Linked DNA regions of Homo sapiens: region 1 is linked to region 2. Evidence: promoter capture Hi-C in 16 types of primary human blood cells and fetal thymus (Javierre and others, 2016). All regions are on one chromosome and are shown on one strand. The core of a region is centred on a gene start or on the middle of the fragment in contact, and the rest is flanking DNA. Distances in the headings are between cores, read along the strand shown.

What was found. The method cuts DNA at HindIII sites, captures the fragments that hold promoters and counts their contacts. A CHiCAGO score of 5 or more calls a contact.
Region 1: the fragment with the promoter of ERICH5 here is called in contact with a fragment that was not itself captured in region 2 in 6 of 17 cell types (fetal thymus, naive CD4 T cells, activated CD4 T cells and 3 more); the score reaches 7.8 in fetal thymus.

Annotation. Positions count from the first base shown.
Region 1 is chr8:98,062,365-98,065,934 of GRCh38, reverse strand. It overlaps ERICH5 (glutamate rich 5), which reads right to left and starts at 1,367. Exons shown (of 3, transcript NM_173549.3): 1 at 1,208-1,367. The coding sequence starts at 1,265. RefSeq lists an enhancer at 927-986 and a silencer at 1,227-1,326. The HindIII fragment of the contact is 8,700 bases long and covers 1-3,570 here.
Region 2 is chr8:97,676,849-97,680,806 of GRCh38, reverse strand. All of the region lies in intron 2 of MTDH (metadherin), which reads right to left. Among named protein-coding and RNA genes, the nearest start is that of MTDH, 35 kb to the right of the region's middle. RefSeq lists a silencer at 2,109-2,309. The HindIII fragment of the contact is 908 bases long and covers 1,032-1,939 here.

The DNA of each region.
Region 1 (3,570 bases), core at 118-2,617, 390 kb before region 2:
CATATTTCTGACTAGGACACAGCGGCTGAGCTTTGAAAAGCATTCCTCACCGTCTGGTGCGCTCTACCAACAACATCAGAGGAAGACATTTCTGTTACTGCAATAACACAAGGTGCTAAGAGAAAATCTGTGAAAAGGAATTCACTCCAGTACAAAATCCCCGCTAAAGTTCGCCTTGCAGAAGACTGTAAACTAGCTTGACGGAGTTTGCTTAACCTCCATAGCATTGTCCAAAATTTTAGCCATTCAAAATCTAAGAAAAGTGAGTCGGCTGTAAAACCCTGTCATTCTCTAATTCATGTAACTGCGTTTATACTTTTCACAGTACTTATCACTGTCAGAAACGATCTTAGCCAATTGTTTCACGTGTTTCTTTTCTGTCTCTTCTATCTTCAATCTCTACAAACAGGGTCACTTGTATCTCCAGCATCTAGCCAAGCACTGGGGTATTATATAGCAGATGCTCAAAATGTCCTTGTTGAGTTTCTTCAGCAAGAGTCAGTGATGACCACTTTTGATCACACATACTTCTCAACTGATACTTAAGCCGAAGATAGGGGAAAGTGTGTCTGACCTATTCAGAGTGCAGGGACCCATTTGATGGAGTGAATGCTCCTCTGGATTCTCCGCATCTTTTGCCATCTTTGATGCTGAAACGCTAATGGGAGGGTAAATGGGGAAAAGTCTTTTTTGTTGGTGTTTTAGTAGAGACGGGGGAGCGGAAGATCTCGCTTTGTTACCCAGGTTTTTCTCGAACTTCTGGTCTCAAGAGATCGTCCCGCCTCAGCCTCCCAAAGTGCTGAGATTGCAGTCGTCAGCCACCGCCCCCAGCCTTGGTAGAAGGCCTTGATAGGACATTTCTCCTGTGTTTAAGGCAATGCCGAGGCTAACCGCCTTAGGGCCTCAACACCAACTCCCCGAGATCCCATCAGCGGACAGGGTGAATCCAGCGCCCGGCCTCGGGCCCCGCGCGTCTCGCAGCGAGCGCCGCGGAGCGCACCAGGGCCGCCGCACCCGCGGTCACAGCAGCGCCGCTCCAGATTTGGAAGGAAATCGCGCTTTGTCCCGGGTTCTGCTCGCATCCTCCGGGACAAGGCCCGGCTCCTGCCAGGCGGGGTGGCCACGGGACACACCCTTTGGACCTCCTGGGGAGTTAGCCCACCCGAGTCCCCAGCCCGGGCGCGGGCGGCGCCGGTACCCTGCTCACCGCTGGGGAACCTGCTGCTGTCGCCGGCCTTGTTGAGGGCGCTGCTGGAGCAGCCCATTGCGGGGAGCGCAGACACCTGTCTCAGCCCTGCGCGGGTGTCGGCCCGGAACCGGGAACCGAAGGCAACTGCACCCGTAGCCGCGGAAGTTTCTCCAGCTCTGCAGCCCGGCTCCCTTGGGCGTAGAGCGCAAGCGCGCAGCGGGGCTAATGGTAGGGGGTGCGCACCTGGAGGAGGAAGGGAGCTGGCAGGAGGTGGAAGGAGCCTGGGAGCGCAAAGCGGAAGAGAGCGGGAGGGCCAGGACGCAGAGGAGGGCAGGGAGGAGTAGAGCCCAGGAGACAGGAGGGGAGACGGTGGAGGGTATGGCACAGTAAGAGAGGAAAAGCCCCTAAAGCAGGGATAGGGAGGATGTCAGGGGGCGAGGGCGAAGCGCTGGGAGGTATCATCTGACTCATCACTAAATAGCCAGGGAGGCGAGGCGGCCTTGGGACTAGGGGCTATTGATTGGTAGACTAGATGTGCGATGACAGTCTTATTTTCTTACATAACTACAATTACCACAAGGAAGTTTAACTTTGATACAGTACGATTTAATCCACCCTCCATGTTCCCTTTTTGCCAATTGTCCAATCCAGGACTGCACGTTGCATTTAGTTGTGTCTCTCTTTAGTTTGCTTTAATCTGAAGTAGTTCCTCCAGTCTTGCTTTGTCGTTATGACTTTGACATTTATTAAGAGAATAGATTTTTTTTTTTTTTTGAAACCGAGTCTCTCTCTGTTGCCCAGGCTGGAGTGTAGTGGCGCAATCTCGGCTCACTGCAACCTCTGCCTCCCGGGTTCAAGCGATTCTCCAGCCTCAGCCTCCAGAGCAGCTGGGATTACAGGCGCCTGCCACCGTGCCCAGCTAATTTTTGTAATTTTAGTAGAGACGGGGTTTCACCATATTGGTCAGGCTGGTTTCGAACTCCTGACCTCAGGTGATCCACCCGCTTCGGCCTCTCAAAGTGCTGGGATTACAGGCATGAGCCACTGCGCTCGGCCTTTTTTTTTTTTTTTTTTTTTCCGGAGATGGAGTCTCACTGTGTCACCAAGACTGGAGTGTAGTGGCGAGATCTCAGCTCACTGCAACCTCCACCTCCCTGGTTCAAGAAACTCTCCCTGCTTCAGCCTCCTGAGTAGCTGGAATTACAGGCATGCGCCACCACGTCTGGCTATTTTTTGTATTTTTTAGTAGAGACGGCGTTTCACCATGTTGGCCAGGCTGGTCTTGAACTCCTGATCGCAGGTGATCCGCCCGCGTGGGACTCCCAAAGTGCTGGGATTACACATGTCAGCCACCGCACCCGGTGAGAACAGGCTTTTTTTTTTTTTAATTTGAGACACGGTTTCATTCTTGTTGCCCAGGCTGGAGTGCAATGGCACAATCTCAGCTCACCACAACTTTCGCCTCCTGGGTTCAAGCAATTCTCCTGCCTAAGCCTCCTGAGTAGCTGGGATTACATGCATGCGCCACCACACCCTGCTAATCTTGTATTTTTAGTAGAGATGGGGTTTCTTCATGTTGGTAAGGCTGGTCTCGAACTCCCGACCTCAGGTGATCCGCCTGCGTCAGCCTCCCAAAGTGCTGGGATTACAGGCATGAGCCATCGCGCCTGGCCAGGCCTTTTTTTAGAGAGAAAGAGGCTGGGCGCGGTGGCTCATGCCTGTAATTCCAGCACTTTGAGAGGCTGAGGCAGGAGAATCTCTTGAACCCGGGAGGTGCAGTTTTCAGTGAGCCAAGCCTGCCCTCCAGCCTGGGTGACAGAGCAAGATTCCATCCAAAAAAAATTTTTTTATAGAGACAGGAGTCTTGCCATGTTGCCCAGGCTGGTCTTGAACTCCTTACCTCAGGGGATCCTCTTCCCTTTGCCTCCCCAAAGTGCTGGGATTACAGGCATGAGACAGTGTGCCTGTGATTTTCTAATTACATTATTCCTTCTATATTGATTAGCTGCCATTCTACTACAAAGTAAGGAAGTGCTTTTCCTTCCCCCCATTTATTCACTTACATCAGTGAGCACTCATGAAGTCTCACACTATCCAATGTAGTATGTTACCATCTGTGAGAGTTTGCTAGGGGTGCTATAATAAAGTACCACAGACTGGATGGCTTGAAGTACAGACATGTATTTCCTCATAGTTCTTGAGATTAGAAGTCAAAGATCAAGATGTCAGCAGAACTGGTTTCTTCTGAGGGCTTGTCTTCTTGGCTGGTAGATGGCCATCTTCTCCATGTCTTCACTTGATCTCCCCCTTGTGCTTGTCTGTGTCCTAATCTCCCCCTCTTATAAGAACACCAGTCATATTGGATTAGGGCCCATATAACC
Region 2 (3,958 bases), core at 236-2,735:
TGTCTAGCATTTGAAATTAGCAGGGGTTCAGATACTGCATGAAACTAACGACCTTTAACCCAAAACCTCTGAAATTATTCAAAACAGACATCACTCAATGTATCAGAAGTCATCTCAAAAAATCTGTATGTTAATTTTCCTATTAGCTTTCACTAAATTTCACATTATGTCTTCTTTCCATCTCATATACATAATACAGATATTACCAACAAAGTAGGCTATAGTATAGTCCCATTAGAAAAAAATCTTTGTGTTATATGTTAAGTACATGTATAGGCATGTGTGCACATGTATGTGCATGTATACATACACACACCATAACACTCCTAAAAGAGGAATGAGTTAAATGACAATGAATACATATTCATTGGGACTACAAACAATATTTGCACGTGGAACAGCAAATGGCTCCATTCTTTTAAATCTAGATGATGAGCTGGGTGCGGTGGTACATGCTTGTAATCCCAGCACTTTGGAGGGGCTGAGGTGGGCCGACCGATTGAGGCCAGGAGTTTGAGACCAGCCTGGGCAACACGGCAAAACTGTGTCTCTACAAAAAATAAAAAATTAGCTGGGCATGGTGGTGCACACCTGTAGTCCTAGCTACTCGGCAGACTGAGGTGGGAGGATCACTTGAGCCCAGGAGGTCGAGGTTGCAGTGAGCCAAGATTGCACCACTGCACTCCAGCTTGGGCGACAGAGCAAGACCTTGTCTCAAACGAACAAACAAAAAAACTAGATGACGAAAAGGCTTTGATAAATAATCATTAGATCCACCATTACAACTTTCTAAAACTGCCAAAGATATATACTGAATAAGACAGATTGATAATTCCTTAGGAAATTATGACGAATAAGTTCCAAAAATTCTAGTATCTTATTAGGAGTTACTCAAAATAAGTAAATAAGCAGTGCCAATACTCAATTGCTAATCAATATATGGAACATATGGTAACTCACTTAAATACCTGAGTAAATATGCCAGATAAAGGGGTCTGCTATCACTCTTGTAACAGCGGGTTAAATAAGCTTGTTGTTCTCATACTTCCATGGGAAAAAATTGAGCATATACCCCAAGATATTTGTTTATAAATTTTATACACATTCTACTACACTGATAGTGTATACATTTGTAAAATATAACTATTTTTAGTGATAGCAATATCAATGCACATGCTTCATTCTTTCGAATATCTTCTAAATGCATTCATTTTAATATCTGGTATTAAATATTGTTATACTTGAAAAAGTAAGAAGATCAAAATGGAAGACACATGATTGGCCATGCTTACTGAAATACGACACTAATTTTTCAACCTAATTCTCCAACTATGCAAAAGTTTTTGTGAAAATTCAGCCAGTAAATTTTAATCTTTAACATCAATACATTGTTTCTGTATTGAACTGTAGATCAGAAAGTTCTACAGTTTTTGGTACTTTCTACTTTATTATTATTATTACTATTATCATCATCATCATTTTGTTCTTGTTATTACCATGGGTGAGATAATTTTTTTTTGTATTTTTAACAAGTGAATTCACTAAAAAGACAAAATTTTACATCTGGTTTATAGCTATTACTTACATAGTTCCATTTAAATTCTCAAAGTAACCCTAGGTAAATGCTATTCTATCCATTTTGTAGATAAGAAAAGGGAGGCACAAGTGATTACTAACCAACCCCCAAATCACATCATTAGTCAAGTGTTAGAACTGGAATTGGATCCCATGTACTCGTGCTCTGGAATCTGGGCTGTTAGGCTATTTTTCTGTTAGAAAATTGCTCCCAAGCTGGGCAGATATGAGGATTTTCACATCTAACGTACAAACGCTCTTTAATAACAAATCATGCAATGATGTAAGTTTGTCAGAATACACTCTTCATTGCATGAGTTTCTTTCAAAAATTGGCTATTTTCTGACATCTTGTTAAGTAAGCTTTCCTTAAGCGTGAAGGGGCAGATTCAGTATAAATTCTTTGTAAAAGTATCTGGTAAGCAGACAACCATTTATCTTTATAAAAAAGATAAACAGACTTGGAACACTTCATTTTTCATAAAAGAAAAATAGGCCAGTCAAGGTGGCTCATGCCTGTAATCCCGAAATATTGGGAGGCTGAGGTGGGAGGATTGTTTGAGGCCAGGAGTTCGAGACCAGCCTGGGTGACTAAGCAATTCTGTCTCTCTCTCAAAAAAAAAAAAAAAAAAAAAAAAGAAGGAAGGAAGGAAGCAAAGGAAACAGAGAGAGAAAGAGGGAGAAAGGAGAAAAAATGTATGACTCGCTTTTAAAAGTTGTTCAGCTTTATCAAAGTATTTTGCTATAATAGAGTCAATGAATCCTCTTGTAAAATCTTTGCATCATAAAAGATGATTATCACCTTCACCCTTACTGTAATTTGAAGGTCTTCCAATTTGCCATCTGGCATTAATCTCTTTTGTCATCATAGTTTTCTAGAAATAATGTAGTAAATAAATTTCACACATGGTGGTATCTCTCCCTAACTCTCCATTTATTTTTTTAATTCCAGTCAAAGCCGTCCATCAGTGGTTTTTGTTTAGTTTTTCCACAAACATTCAAAAAAGTTAAATAAGTGATTTACAGTTGAGAATATATCTTTGTGGATATCTCTTTAATTGCTCACAAAAGTGGTTCTTCATGTGTTTCATTACTGAAATAGAATCTAGCAAGTACTCCCAAGCTTTAATGTTAGAAACATCTGTACATTATCCCTACCAGGCTGGGAAATTTGCTCTGGTACTAATTTATTTAATATCATTAGCAACATTTTTATGCTGCATCAAACAGTATATGCTAATGAATGAATGCATTTTGATTGGCTGTAATATTGTTTTTTGCTAATTACCATGGCAGAGGAACAAGTGTTTCCCCATAGTATTTCTTTCTCTATTTAAATAAGAAACCCTCAAGAAATGCATCCAGTCATTTATAATTAAATTCAGTAAAATTTTGTCATATAGAATAATGCATAAATAAATACCTCCAAAAAAACTAGAAATGCCAGTTTTTACATTCTGAATGCTTAGATATCTTGCTAAATTAGAATAGTTTCAGAATACCATTAGCTAAAATTTCAAGGCACAGTATAATTAGGCAAAGTTTTTATTTTAAATACCAAAAGTATAAACATATTGTTATTTCAAAACCCCTTCTTGATGATTTCACTATCTGGATCAATTTATATAACATCTGATTAAATCATCATAACTTCATGGTGATGTAGCTGATAGAGTTCTTACTAGAAATAATAGTGTCCACTTCCTTTTTCTTTTCTTTCTTTCTTTCTTTTTTTTTTTTTTGAGATGGAGTCTCGCTCTGTCGCCCAGGCTAGAGTGCAGTGGCATGATCTCAGCTCACTGCAACCTCCGCCTCCCAGGTTCAAGGAATTCTCCTGCCTCAGCCTCCCGAGTAACTGGGACTACAGGCACCTGCCACCATGCCCGGCTAATTTTTTATTTTTAGTAGAGACGGGGTTTCACCATCTTGGCCAGGCTGGTCTCGAACTTTTGACCTTGTGATCCACCTGCCTCGGCCTCCCAACGTGCTGGGATTACAGGCATGAGCCACTGCGCCCGGCCTTTTTTTTTTTTTTTTTTTTTTTTTTTTTTTGAGACAGGCTTTTACTGTTGCCCAGGCTGGAGTGCAGTGGTGTGATCAAGGCTCACTGCAGCCTTGACCTCCTGGGCTCAAGTGATCCTCCTACCTCAGCTTCCCACGTAGCTGGGACTATAGGCATGCGTCATCATGCCTGGCTAATTTTTGTATTTTTTTTTTTTTTTTTTTTTGAGATAGAGTCTCACTCTGTCGCCCAGGCTGGAGTGCAATGGCACAATCTCAGCTCACTGCAACATCCACCTCCTGGGTTCAAGCAATACTCCTGTCTCAGCCTCCTGAGTAGCTGGGACTACGGGTATGTGCCACCACGCCCAGCTAATTTTTTT